Linked DNA regions of Homo sapiens: regions 1 and 2 are each linked to region 3. Evidence: promoter capture Hi-C in human tissues and cell types (Jung and others, 2019). All regions are on one chromosome and are shown on one strand. Each heading gives the region's core, a stretch centred on a gene start or on the middle of the fragment in contact. The rest is flanking DNA. Distances are from core to core; before and after follow the strand shown.

Region 1 (3,717 bases), core at 167-2,666, 560 kb after region 3:
TGGGTGGGGTGGCTCACACCTGTAATCCCAGCACTTTGGGAGGCCAAGGTGGGCGGATCACCTGAGGTCAGGAGTTCGAGATCAGCCTGACCAACATGGTGAAACCCTGTCTCTACTTTAAAAATACAAAAATTAGGCCAGGAGCAGTGGCTCACACCTGTAATCCCAGCACTTTGGGAGGCCAAGGCAGGTGGATCACCTGAGATCAGGAGTTCAAGACCAGCCTGACCAACATGGAGAAACCCCATCTCTACTAAAAATACAAAATTAATCGGGTGTGGTGGCCCATGCCTGTAATCCCTGCTACTCAGGAGGCTGAGGCAGGAGAATCGCTTGAACCTGGGAGGTGGAAGTTGTGGTGAGCCGAGATCGTGCCATTGCACTCCAGCCTGGGCAACAGAAACTCCATCTCAACAAAAAAAAAAAAATTAGCCAGGTGTGGTGACACATACCTGTAATCCCAGCTACTTGGGAGGCTGAGACCAGAGAATTGCTTGAACCCAGGCAGCAGAGGTTGCAGTGAGCTGAGATCGGGCCACTGCACTCCAGCCTGGGCAACAGAGCGAGACTCCATCTCAAAAAAAAAAAAAAAAAGAGAAAGAAAAGAAACAAACAAAATTAGCCAGTGTGGTAGTGAGTGCCTGGGGTCCCAGCTACTCAAGAGGCTGAGGTGGGAGGATCATTTAAGCCAAGGAGGTCAAGTCCGTAGTGAGTTATGATTGCCACCACTGCACTCCACCTGGTGACAGAGCAAGATGCTGTATTGTTGTTGTTGTTTTGAGATGGAGTCTCACTCTTGTTGCCCAGGCTGGAGTGCAATGGCACAATCTCGGCTCACCATAACCTCTGCCTCCCAGGTCCAAGTGATTCTCCTGCCTCAGCCTCCCCATTAGCTGGGATTACAGGCATGTGCCACCAGGCCTAGCCAATTTTGTATTTTTTTAGTAGAGACGGGGTTTCTCCATGTTGGTCAGGCTGGTCTCAAACTCCCAACCTCAGATGATCCACCAGCCTCGGCCTCCCAAAGTGCTGGGATTACAAGCAGGAGCCACCACGCCTGGCCCAAGATGCTGTTTTTTAAAAAAAGACCTCTGTCCAACTTCTTTGCTGCACAGATGGGGAAACTGAGGCCCAGAGAGGGACAGCAATGGTTTTCCCTAAAAGCCCCCACCCAGGCAAAGACAAAGATGAACAGAGTGGGGCAGGCAGCAGGGGGCTAGTGTCCTCACCGTCATGGTGACAGCTCCTGGCGGCAGCTCCCAGCGGCTCCTGGAGGCCTGTGCTCAGGGTCTCAACTCGTGGTCAAGCTTATATCCTAGAATATTACACATTAACTCCCTCAAGGTCCTAGGTGAGGACTTTGCCCCTTCTACCTTGTGTCTCCCCGCCTGCATCTCCCAGTACCCAGCACAAACAGGCAGAAGACTCCTCAGCCAGCTCCACCCCACCCAGCCCGGAGCATCCTCCTGGCCTCCCTCCAGCCCAGCCTCCCCCTCCTCAGCGCTCCCAGAGCCCGAGAGGGGAAGCAGCCCCAGCTCTGCCCCCACACAAACCGCAATGCAGCCGCTTGACAGCTCTCCCAGCCTCCCTCACTTAGCCCAGCTTCCTTGCCTGTAAAAAGAGAGATTTGCTTTGCAAAAAAAAAAAAAAGTCTAGGTTTCTAATTTTCTTTTTTTTTTTTTTTTGAGACAGAGTCTCACTCTGTCACCCAGGCTGGAGTGCAGTGGCAACGATCTCCGCTCAATGCAATCTCCTGGGTTCACACCATTCTGCTGCCTCAGCCTCCCGAGTAGCTGGAACTACAGGCACCCGCCACCATGCCCGGCTAATTTTTTGGTATTTTTAGTAGAGACGAGGTTTCACCGTATTAGCCAGGATGGTCTCGATCTCCTGACCTCGTGATCTGCCCACCTTGGCCTCCCAAAGTGCTGGGATTACAGGCGTGAGCCATTGCGCCTGGCCTAAGGTTCTAATTTTCTATGATGTTATGATTCATTGTCAGAGAGCATTATGTTTTCTTCTTCCCTCCCCATATTATTTATCTGATCGGACATGTAGGTTTCAAAACCAATACACGGATTCAAAGAAAAGATTTCAAACTATTTACAACAAATGGTCAAAAGCAGAGGAGAGCTGGGCGCGGTTGCTTAAGCCTGTAATCCCAGCACTTTGGGAGGCCAAGGCAGGCGGATCACCTGAAGTCAGGAGTTTGTGACCAGCCCGGCCAACATGGTGAAACCCCATCTCTACTAAAAATACAAAAATTAGCTGGGCGTGGTCGCACCTGTAGTCACAGCTGCTCAAGAGGCTGAGGCAGGAGAATCGCTTGAACCCGGGAGGTGGAGGTTACAGGGAGCTAAGATCGCGCCACTACACTCCAGCCTGGGCGACAGAGTGAGGCTCCGTCTCAAATAAAAAAATAAAAAATAAATAAAAGTGCAGAAGGAGTGGGAGGGCTGAGTGGGGGACATGGAGGATGAAAATGCTTTGCTCTTGACTTCTGTTACTTATGTAACTGGCATGCTTACTATAGACAATTAGAGATATTAAATAAAAAGAAAAATAATCACTCATAATGCCACCGCCACGAGGGAACTGGCTTACGCTGTTGGCACATTTCCTTCCAGGCGGTTCTCCACAGATTTACATTATAGACACCCCTCTGTCTGTGCAATTGTTTATCTCTCTTCATTTGGGAAACATTAAAGACCACAAATCTATATTTCAGAACCATACTTTAATGCCTGCGAAATAGTCTACCTTTCAACGACTGAATTTATTTAACCAATTTCCTTCTGCTGAACACTCACATTAATTCTACATTTTTGCTATTAAAAATACTGCTGCATTAAATCTATTTGGACATAAACTTTGGCTGCATCGTGACAACTTATGTAGGGCAGATTCCCAGAAGGAGAACTTTTCTAGAGCTCAGGATTTGGCGAGCCAGAGCGTTTTCCATCAGAGTTGGCGGTGGCCACTCCGGGCAGGATGTGGGGAACTGGCCTTGCCGAGGGCCCTCGGTGCCAGGAGTCTGCAGGTGGCTCACTGCCCAGTGCCCACATAGGACACCACCTTCAGTCCCCTGCCAGCCCGGAGTGAGGAGTGACTTCCTCCTTTCACCCACAAGGAAATTAATCCTCTCTCGGCCTTTCTCCCAAAGGCATGGTAAAACCCCAGTGAGATAAGGAATTTTAAAAGGCTTTCTCCCTGGAAACTAATCAACAGAAACTATACCTTTTAAAGGTGGCATTTTTCTGATTATAATAATAATATTATCTCACTATAGGAGGTTCCAGAAAGTACACACAGTAAAAGGAACTTAAAGTTCACTTGTTTTAAAATAATGTTCAAAAGCAGGGGAAAATGACCATGCATATCATTTACGTACTTTGCTGCGTATATATTTTATACCAATGAAAGATTTAAAAAAAGAAAAAAGAATGGCTGGGCATGGTGGCTCACCCCTGTAATCCCAGCACTTTGGGAAGCTGAGGTGGGTGGATCGCTTGAGTCCAGGAGTTCGAGACCAGCCTGGGCCACATAGTGAGACCCTATCTCTACTAAAAATTTTTTTTAATTAGCCAGGCATGGTGGCACATGCCAGTAGTCCCAGCTACTCAGGAGTCTGAGGTAAGAGAATCACTTGAGCCCTGGAGATCCAGGCTGCAGTGAGCCATGATTGTGCCACTGCACTCCAGCCTGGGTGACAGTGAC
Region 2 (3,863 bases), core at 51-2,550, 510 kb before region 3:
CAGCCTGGGCGACAGAGTGAGACTCCGTCTTAAAAAAAAAAAAAAGCGAAATACCCTTTTTCGTCCATTCCTCCCATACCTACTGGCCAATCAAGGTGTGTGGTTCGTGTGGGGAAGGTCCCAGCTTCCGCAGGTGAGCTCTGGCACCGGCCTTACCTGCACTGATGCACCTGGCCCTTCTGGTCAGTTAGGATGAAGTAGTGGCCATTCCAGGCCTGTCGGTCCTTGTCCAGAGTGACGTGGGCGATGGTGGTGTTGTACTGGACACGGAGCCCCAGCGTGTCCGCGAAGTCACCCAGGTAGCGCACCATGTCGCGGGCGTCGGGGAAGTAGGCACGCGAGTAGTGTCTGAAGAGCAGCCGGGGGTCGTGGCTGAGCAGAGAGTTCCAGTCGTGGCGGAGGTTGAACTCGGCGTTAGCCTTGCCCGTGTACCGCTTGTTGATGCTGATGAGCTTGCGGTGCCGCGGGTAGCGTGTGAAGAAGCTGCCGGGCCGCGGGGCCCGCTCGAACACTGCGTAGTCGCGTCCAGCGCGCTGCAGGAAGTAGGCCATCTGCAGGCCCGCGGGCCCAGCGCCCAGCACGCAGTAGTCCCGGCGCGGGGGCACCGACAGCGCTGGGTGCAGGGCGATGGCCAGGAGCAGCCCCGGGGGACCCCACAACGGGGCCGCAGCGGAGAGGCCCATCCTGCAGCAGATCAGAGGGGTAAGGCCTCGCACCCGGCCCGGCGGCTGGGAGACACGAGGCCCAGAAAGAGGCGGGGCCTGCGGGAACTCTCACTGCAATCTGGGTCACGGCCAGGCCCAGAAGCCGTCCTCAGAGCTCATTTGCCCGGACTCCACCGTTTCAAGCTGGGACTTGGGGCTCCCCGGAATCCCGAGCCCCTCCATCTTATCTCCCTCAGGGTCTCCTTCCTCAGGGGCACCGGCTCCCCGCTTATGATTGTAGTAACCTCCACCCTGGGGAAGGAGAGCGTACTCCCCAATTTTCCCCTAATTTGAGGGTGCCCAACACCCCTTTGAACCACCCTCCAGGTTGGACCTTCCAGAGGCCTTGGCCCCTCTCCAGCGACCGGGTGGGAGCCTGAAGTGGGTGTGGCCTGCGTGCGCCCCGCCCCCTGCCAGGGTCCGCGCGCCCCAGGCTCTTCGGCCACGTGACAGGGATGCCGCGCACACCTGCCGCCCGCCCGCGTGCGCTTCAGGAGCCGCCAGGTCCCTACGCCCGCAGCTCCGGCCTCCCCGCCTCCGACCGAACCCTGAGAAACGCGCGAACCTCCCAGCCGCTCCGGCTGCAACCCGTGGTCTAATGAGGCCGCGCTTGGCTCGCTTGCTCCGCGGCGGCTCCGCCCCTCGCGCCCGGACCAATGGCAGGGGGCGGGGTCACGTGCGCGGCGCGCGGCACGCCGGGACCAGCTGGCAGGCTGCCTGCTCCGGCCCAGCGCGGGAGAGGCGCGCGCGTGCTGCGTTCGCTGCTCCGGGGGCTGGTAGAGGGGCCTGGGGCTAGCGCGCACCCGCGAGGGTGGAAGGTCTGGAGATCCGGGATGGGGAACTGGGTCCTTCGTTTTAAAAGGTGCCTCTCTACACGGAGGGAGGGGAGCACGTGATTTTTGGAGCTAATCCTAGCTCTCATATTCCATGAATGTAGCCAAACGCTAAAACTAGTTGGCCTACCCAGTTTTGTGGGACTGGAAACCAGCGTGGTGGAGCCAGGACCGATAAGCCAATTAACAAGCGTTTGCTACAGTGACTCAGTGTACTGCTTACCAAGTAACATACACGACTGTCCTAATCTTCCACCAAATAGGAGAGGTGGGCAAGGCATTGTTTCCGACATTTGGTAGCTGACTGGTCAAATGGAGACATAGGGATGAAGGGATATGTTTACAATCACAGGAAGTGGAGCCTGGAATTAAAACTCAGTGGAGGCAAGATAAATGGCAGGAGGAAGATAACGTGAACTGGATGATGAAGGTTGGCTTCCCAGGGGTGGCAAGTGGCCCCTGCATGAGATTTACATGGGGAGAAATACGAAGTCAGTGTAGGAACCTTCAAAGTCCAGTGAAATGGGGCTGAGTGTTCTTGGGGGAAGGGCAGGTGGAAAGAACTGCGAGCCTGCAGATTTGCATGGCTGGAGATTCTTTGAATTAAAAATCGTAGCTGGGGACTCCTTAGAAAAATTTTCCTGACCTCTCAGGCCTACAAGTACCTACCAAAGAATGTCATTTACTTTTTCTTTTTTTTTTTTTTTTGAGATGGAGTCTCACTCTGTCGCCCAGGCTGGAGTGCAGTGGCGTGATCTCGGCTCACTGCAAGCTCCACCTCCCAGGTTCACGCCATTTTTCTGCCCCAGCCTCCCTAGTAGCTGGGACTACAGGTGCCCGCCACCACACCCGGCTAATTTTTTGTATTTTTAGTAGAGACAGGGTTTCACTGTGTTAGCCAGGATGGTCTCGATCTCCTGACCTCGTGATCCGCCCGCCTCGGCCTCCCAAAGTGCTGGGATTACAGGCGTGAGCCACCGCGCCTGGCCGAATGTCATTTACTTTCTTCAGTCTGTGTCAACATCAGAGAAAAGCTCCCTCAGAGCAGAAATTGTCCAGTATCTGACATACGGAAGTTTAAGCATTTGTTGAATAAGCATTGCAACCAGAGAGGTCAGGCAGAATACTTTGCCAAAAATAAAGTAGGGATGTCTTATTTCTTCTTTTTGAGACAGAGTCTCACTGTCACCCAGGCTGGAGTGCAGTGACACAATCATGGCTCACTGCAGCCCTGACCTTCCAGGCTCAAGCGATCCTGCTTCAGCCTCCCAAAGTGCTAGGGATTACAAGTGTGTGCCATGGCCCCTGGCCAATTTTTCAAAAAAATTTTTGGGGGCATATGTGTATATATTTATGGGGCATATGAGATGTTTTGATAGTCATGCAATTTGGGGATGTCTGTTTCTTAGTGGTTGTGAAGATTATGAGAATGGGTGCTGGCAAACAAGTTCCTAAAATAATTGCTGGTCTTATGTGGTGAATACAGTAGTGGGAAATTAAACAGAATTCGTCAAGTATGGTAGGGCCCTACGAGTAGGCTGAACCTAGATTGTAAGCAACAGGATGCTACTGGGAGTTTCTGAATGTAGGATTACTGCAGCAGTCAACTTGGTAGCCCCATGCAGGACAGATAAAAGCAGTGGACAGCTACTCGGGAGGCTGAGGCAGGAGAATGGCGTGAACCCAGGAGGCGGAGCTTACAGTGCCTGAGATTGCGCCACTGCACTCCAGCCTGGGCAACAGAGCAAGACTCCGTCTCAAAAAAAAAAAAAAAAAAAAAAAAGGCAGTGGAAACTGATGCAAAGTATTTTCAGGGAATGAGCTTGAGTCACTTCCACTTGCTTCTGTTAATCCTGTTGGACAGGGCCATGGTTTGCAAGAGGCAATTTGGTGAATACTGGTCCAACCTGGAAACCCCCGGCACTAGTCACACCACTTTAATCTGTTTTTTAACACTCTGTATTCACATTGAAAACTCCCCAAGTACACTTTTTCTCTCCACTGCTTCTAACACAGTTCAAGAAACCTTTTGCTTGCTGAGGTTCGATTCATTAAAATTAATTTTGTGTTTTTTCAAGCTACTTTAAAAAAAAAACCTGTAACTTTAGAAATGCTGAGCTTTTTTTGAGAGTCTCTGTAATCCAAATTGGAGTGCAGTGGTGTGATCTCAGTTCACTGCAACCTCCGCCTCCTGGGTTCGAGTGAATCTCCAGCCTCAGCCTCCCAAGTAGCTGGAATTACAGGCGTGTGCCACCATGCCTGGCTGTTTTGTATTTTTAGTAGAGACGGGGTTTTGCTATGTTGCTCAGGCTGGTTTTGAACTCCT
Region 3 (3,938 bases), core at 1,341-3,840:
TAACTAGCTATGCGGCCTTGGCCCCTGCCTCTGTGCACCTCAGTCTCCCCTCTGTCAGGTGAGGTCACCGTTCAGGCCCTCCAGCTCTAAGAGTGTGCAGAACAGTTTTCCCAGCATTCTCTCTGTAGGAGGTACAGACAGGAAGAGATGTTTTTCAACAAGTCAGGCAAAATGTTGCACACGAGTTAGATTCTGTAGAGAAGGAGCTCTGACTGAGGAAAGAGCCACCAAGGAGGTGCCCAGAGACAAGAGAGGGCCCTGCTCCTGGAAATGGCCAGGCAGGGACTGGAGGGCACTCAGCAGGAGTGATGGCAGCGAGACGGCAGTCCTGCCTCTAGAAAAGGGAAGACCTCCGAGGTTCTGTCTGGCTAGGAGGTTCTAGAACTCAGCATTTCCTCTCCTGAGGCTCTCCCCAACCCTCAAGCAGTATCCAATCCACCTGGCCTTCCCTTCCACAGGAGGGGAACTTCTGAGTCGCCTTCCTGGGGCAACTAGCAGAGGGGACTCCCTCCTGGCCCTGGGAAGTAGGGGTAGGGCAGCATTGGGTGCGTCCTGGTTTATAGCCCTGGTTTGAAACAAGGCAGCATTGGATTCGAATCCTGCCTTCCACCACTTTATGTCCTGGCATCTCAGTCCCCCCACCCCCCGCTGCCAAAACAGGGGCATTGAGCTTTGTTCGCTGAGATAATGCGGTGCCAAGTGTCTGGCATGAAATGGCAGCTGCTGTTACAACTCTGCCGACGGGCTGCAGCTGCCTGGAAAGGTTATGGAACCTTTGCAAACAGCAGGCAGGGGCCCCAGGAGAGCTAGATTTGGGGAGAGGGGGATCCTGCGGGGAGGGACACTGTTGATGTCTATAAGGGTTTCTGCGGGACGAGAGAGGCCTGGAGAAGCTGGATGTGTCCGTGGGAGGTTTCTGTACAGCAATGCAAACGCTGGCTCAGGGGCATGACACCCTTAGGTATATCCTAGTACATGTGGGGCAGCTGGTGCCTGGGAGTGGAGGTGGTGGACATGTCACCAGTGACTTCTGCTCACACAGATGCTAGGTGGCTTCTTAGCACATGGCTATGAGGACACATTCTTGGGTCCTTGTGCATCCAAGCTGAAAAAGCCTTTAGGTTTGTCTCCACTTTCTGGTTTTATCGATGGAAAGACTGAGGCCTACATGGGAGGATTGAAGGCATGGGACGGACCCTGGAGAGGGTCCCAGTCATCCTTACTCCCTATCCTTCCATGGGGCAATACTCCCCAGGGACCACCCAGCACTGGGACACCTACCTACTGCATCCGGCTCCGGCTCGGTGCCCAGGAACCGCCCTTGAGACCTTGAATCCACCAGCTGGAACCTCTTAGATTCAAGGTTCTCCAGCACCTGCTCGTAGGTCTTGAGCAGGGAGCGGTCCAGTGTGGCTTTGAAGACGGCCGGTTCTGGGCGTGAGGGCTCGGATGTCACCGGGTGGCCCTCCTTCAGCCAGTTCCGGAAGCCACCATTGAGCACTGATACGGTGCGGTGGCCAAACACACGGAACATCCACCAGACCCGGGGAGCATAGAAGCTGCCCAGGTGTTCACCATCATACACCACCACGTGCGTGTGGTTGCTGATGCCCAGGCGGCCCACATACTCGGCGAAGCCAGCCTCGCTGGGCAGCATCATCTCGTAGGGCGACGCCGTGTCCCGGCACTCTTCTATGTCAAAGAAAGAGGCGCCGGGTACGTGGCGCTCGAGGTACTCCTTGCGGGCCTCTCGGGTGCCTGGTGAGTACCAGGACGCGTCCAGCACCCGCAGGCCGGGCCCCAGCTTGCCAGTCCTGATGGACTCCGCCAGCCACTTGGTGGAGACCAGCGCCCGGTAGAGCACCTGATGAACCATGGCTTCAGCTCTGCGTGTCACCTGGCACGGGTGGGAACCAGGAAAGAGAGACAGGCGTGAGGAAGGAAGTCGGTGTGTGCAGTAGGGTGAGGCCTGGGAGAAGCTCTTTCTCCCTCCGCACTCCCCCGGGTTCCTTGTTTACAGCAAGCCAGCGAGGCTGGGGCGTGCAGCGGGATAAGTTTGCAGATTCCCTCTGGAAAGCCGGCCCCGCCCCTCCCAGCCGGCCCGGGGGCCCAGCGCAGAAGCGGGTGGGGCAAGAGTTTCCGAGGACTCCAAGTAGGGGCGCTTCCTGGGGCGGGGATCTGGCTCCTAGAAGTTACAGTACTCGATCCCGCCAGGAAAGAGCAATGAAAGCATGCCCGGGATGGGGGGCGATGGCATCTTGGGCTTAGAATCCCCTTTCCTTCCAAGGCAGAGGGGGTGGGCGCACGGCTAGGAAGCTCCGCGAGCCGCGCACACGCCATCGCCTGCGGCCTCCCCAGGCAGCCCGAGCTCGCCCGCCTCCAGAGTGCCCGAGTCCGGCCCGTAGCTCGCTGCCCTCTGCCCTAGGTGGATCAGGGGTTCCCGGGGCACCCCGTCCCACTCTCGCAACGCTATCCTTCCCCGGGCAGCAGGTGGCCCGACCGGCGGCCCAGGCGCCCGGCCGCTGCCCCCGCCCCGCACTCACTCGCCCCGGACGCCGCGCTGGCGCTCGCCCCGGCCGGCTGGAGAAGTTGGCCGGTTCAAACCCCCGGCCGCAGCTCCCCAGGCGGCGCGCACCATCGCGCCACCGCCAGAGGGGGACCCTGCGCCGCCCGCCGCCATCCCGCGCCTCCCCCGCGCGGCCGCTTCGCGCCCGGCACCTGCCAACCTCGCGCGCGGGGCCTCCGGGACCCGCGGGGGTCTGAGGGGGACGCCGGGTGGCGCGGGGGCCGCGCGGGCCTGGGCTGGGCGGAGCGGGCGTACCCCCACGGCCCGGCCAGTGGAAGGCGCGGGCAGCAGCGGCTCCGAGTGGCCGCGGCGGTGGGCTGTGCCGGAGTCTCCTCCCTTTGGTCCGCTGCAGGTTGGTGGCGGGAGGAGGGGACAGCTGCGGGCGCGGGGAGGGGGCGCCGCGCCGCGGGGGCCATGGCGGAGCCAGGAAGCCGGGAGTCCGAGACCCGGGTAACTGCCGCGGCGTGGCGGCTTGCCTTTCTGGAGGGGGAGGGAGTGGCTCTTTGGGGGTGCTCGGCGCGGGGCTCCCGCGCGGGACCTGGGCGGAAGAGGGGGCTTAGTCTAGGAGAGAAGGCGCGCCGCTACGTTGGCACTAAGGGTGACTGTCCGCTTGGGGCGGCCTGCCGGGTGGGGTCGTGGCGAGTGGCGGGTGGGGAGCCTTGGGTGGAAGTGGGTGACCTGGTGGCACCAGAGAGGGCGGGGGAGAGAGAGGAGGACAGGGAGACGAGACCCCGCTGACCCAGAGGCCCCAGGAAGAGACACTAGCCAATAACTTGTTAGTGAGTGAAAGGAACTAACATTGTCCAGCCCTGCTTGGTGTGGCACTTTGCTGGGTACTCCCGTGGTGTGACTTAATTCCCACAATAACCCTGAGGAGTAGGCCAGAAACTTACTAAGACAGGAGAGAGCGGCAGAGCGAGTTGCTGGAGGACACACCCAGAGTTGAGGCCGGGCCTGATCCCTGGTCTGAAGCCCACGTGGTACCAGCTGCCTTTGTTTACCTGGCTCTTCCCTGAAGGTTCATGCTTTTTAAAAAATTGCCTGTTTTGAACTTAGCCCGTTTAATCATAAGTTGATGTAATTCAATTTTTAATAATAGCTGTATTTAACAACCAGTTGGCAAAATTCCTGAAAAGCTCGCCATGGGCTCTTGCAAACTGGGGGACACCATTGCCCCTCCCTAGCTTTTGCAGAGGCCAGCCTGGAAGCTTTCCCTGTTTCCCAACCCTGACCTTTTGTTTTGTTTTGTTTTTTGAGACAGGCTGTGGTTCTGTGGCCCAGACTGGAGTGCAGTGGCGCCATCTCAGCTCACTGCAACCTCCGCCTCCCAGGCTCAAGCGATCCTCCCACCTTAGCCTCCCAAGTAGGTGGG

The links. The method cuts DNA at HindIII sites, captures the fragments that hold promoters and counts their contacts. A contact is called where the count stands out against the background at its distance.
Region 1: a contact is called between the fragment with the promoter of LGALS2 here and the fragment with the promoter of TST in region 3, in 2 of the 25 tissues and cell types used here (lymphoblastoid cells and spleen).
Region 2: a contact is called between the fragment with the promoter of FOXRED2 here and the fragment with the promoter of TST in region 3, in 1 of the 25 tissues and cell types used here (dorsolateral prefrontal cortex).

What each region holds. Positions count from the first base shown.
Region 1 is chr22:37,578,671-37,582,387 of GRCh38, forward strand. It overlaps LGALS2 (galectin 2), which reads right to left and starts at 1,417. Exons shown (of 4, transcript NM_006498.3): 1 at 1,230-1,417. The coding sequence starts at 1,235. RefSeq lists a silencer at 1,744-1,803. The HindIII fragment of the contact is 22,309 bases long and covers 1-3,717 here.
Region 2 is chr22:36,505,740-36,509,602 of GRCh38, forward strand. It overlaps FOXRED2 (FAD dependent oxidoreductase domain containing 2), which reads right to left and starts at 1,301. Exons shown (of 9, transcript NM_001102371.2): 1 at 1,270-1,301; 2 at 157-684. The coding sequence starts at 683. RefSeq lists a silencer at 1,048-1,547. The HindIII fragment of the contact is 18,149 bases long and covers 1-3,863 here.
Region 3 is chr22:37,016,857-37,020,794 of GRCh38, forward strand. It overlaps TST (thiosulfate sulfurtransferase), which reads right to left and starts at 2,591. Exons shown (of 3, transcript NM_003312.6): 1 at 2,544-2,591; 2 at 1,282-1,897. The coding sequence starts at 1,876. It overlaps MPST (mercaptopyruvate sulfurtransferase), which reads left to right and starts at 2,886. Exons shown (of 3, transcript NM_021126.8): 1 at 2,886-3,016. The coding sequence starts at 2,981. RefSeq lists enhancers at 1,134-2,109, 2,138-2,639 and silencers at 2,113-2,172, 2,333-2,722, 2,753-2,872, 2,883-3,202. The HindIII fragment of the contact is 8,246 bases long and covers 1-3,938 here.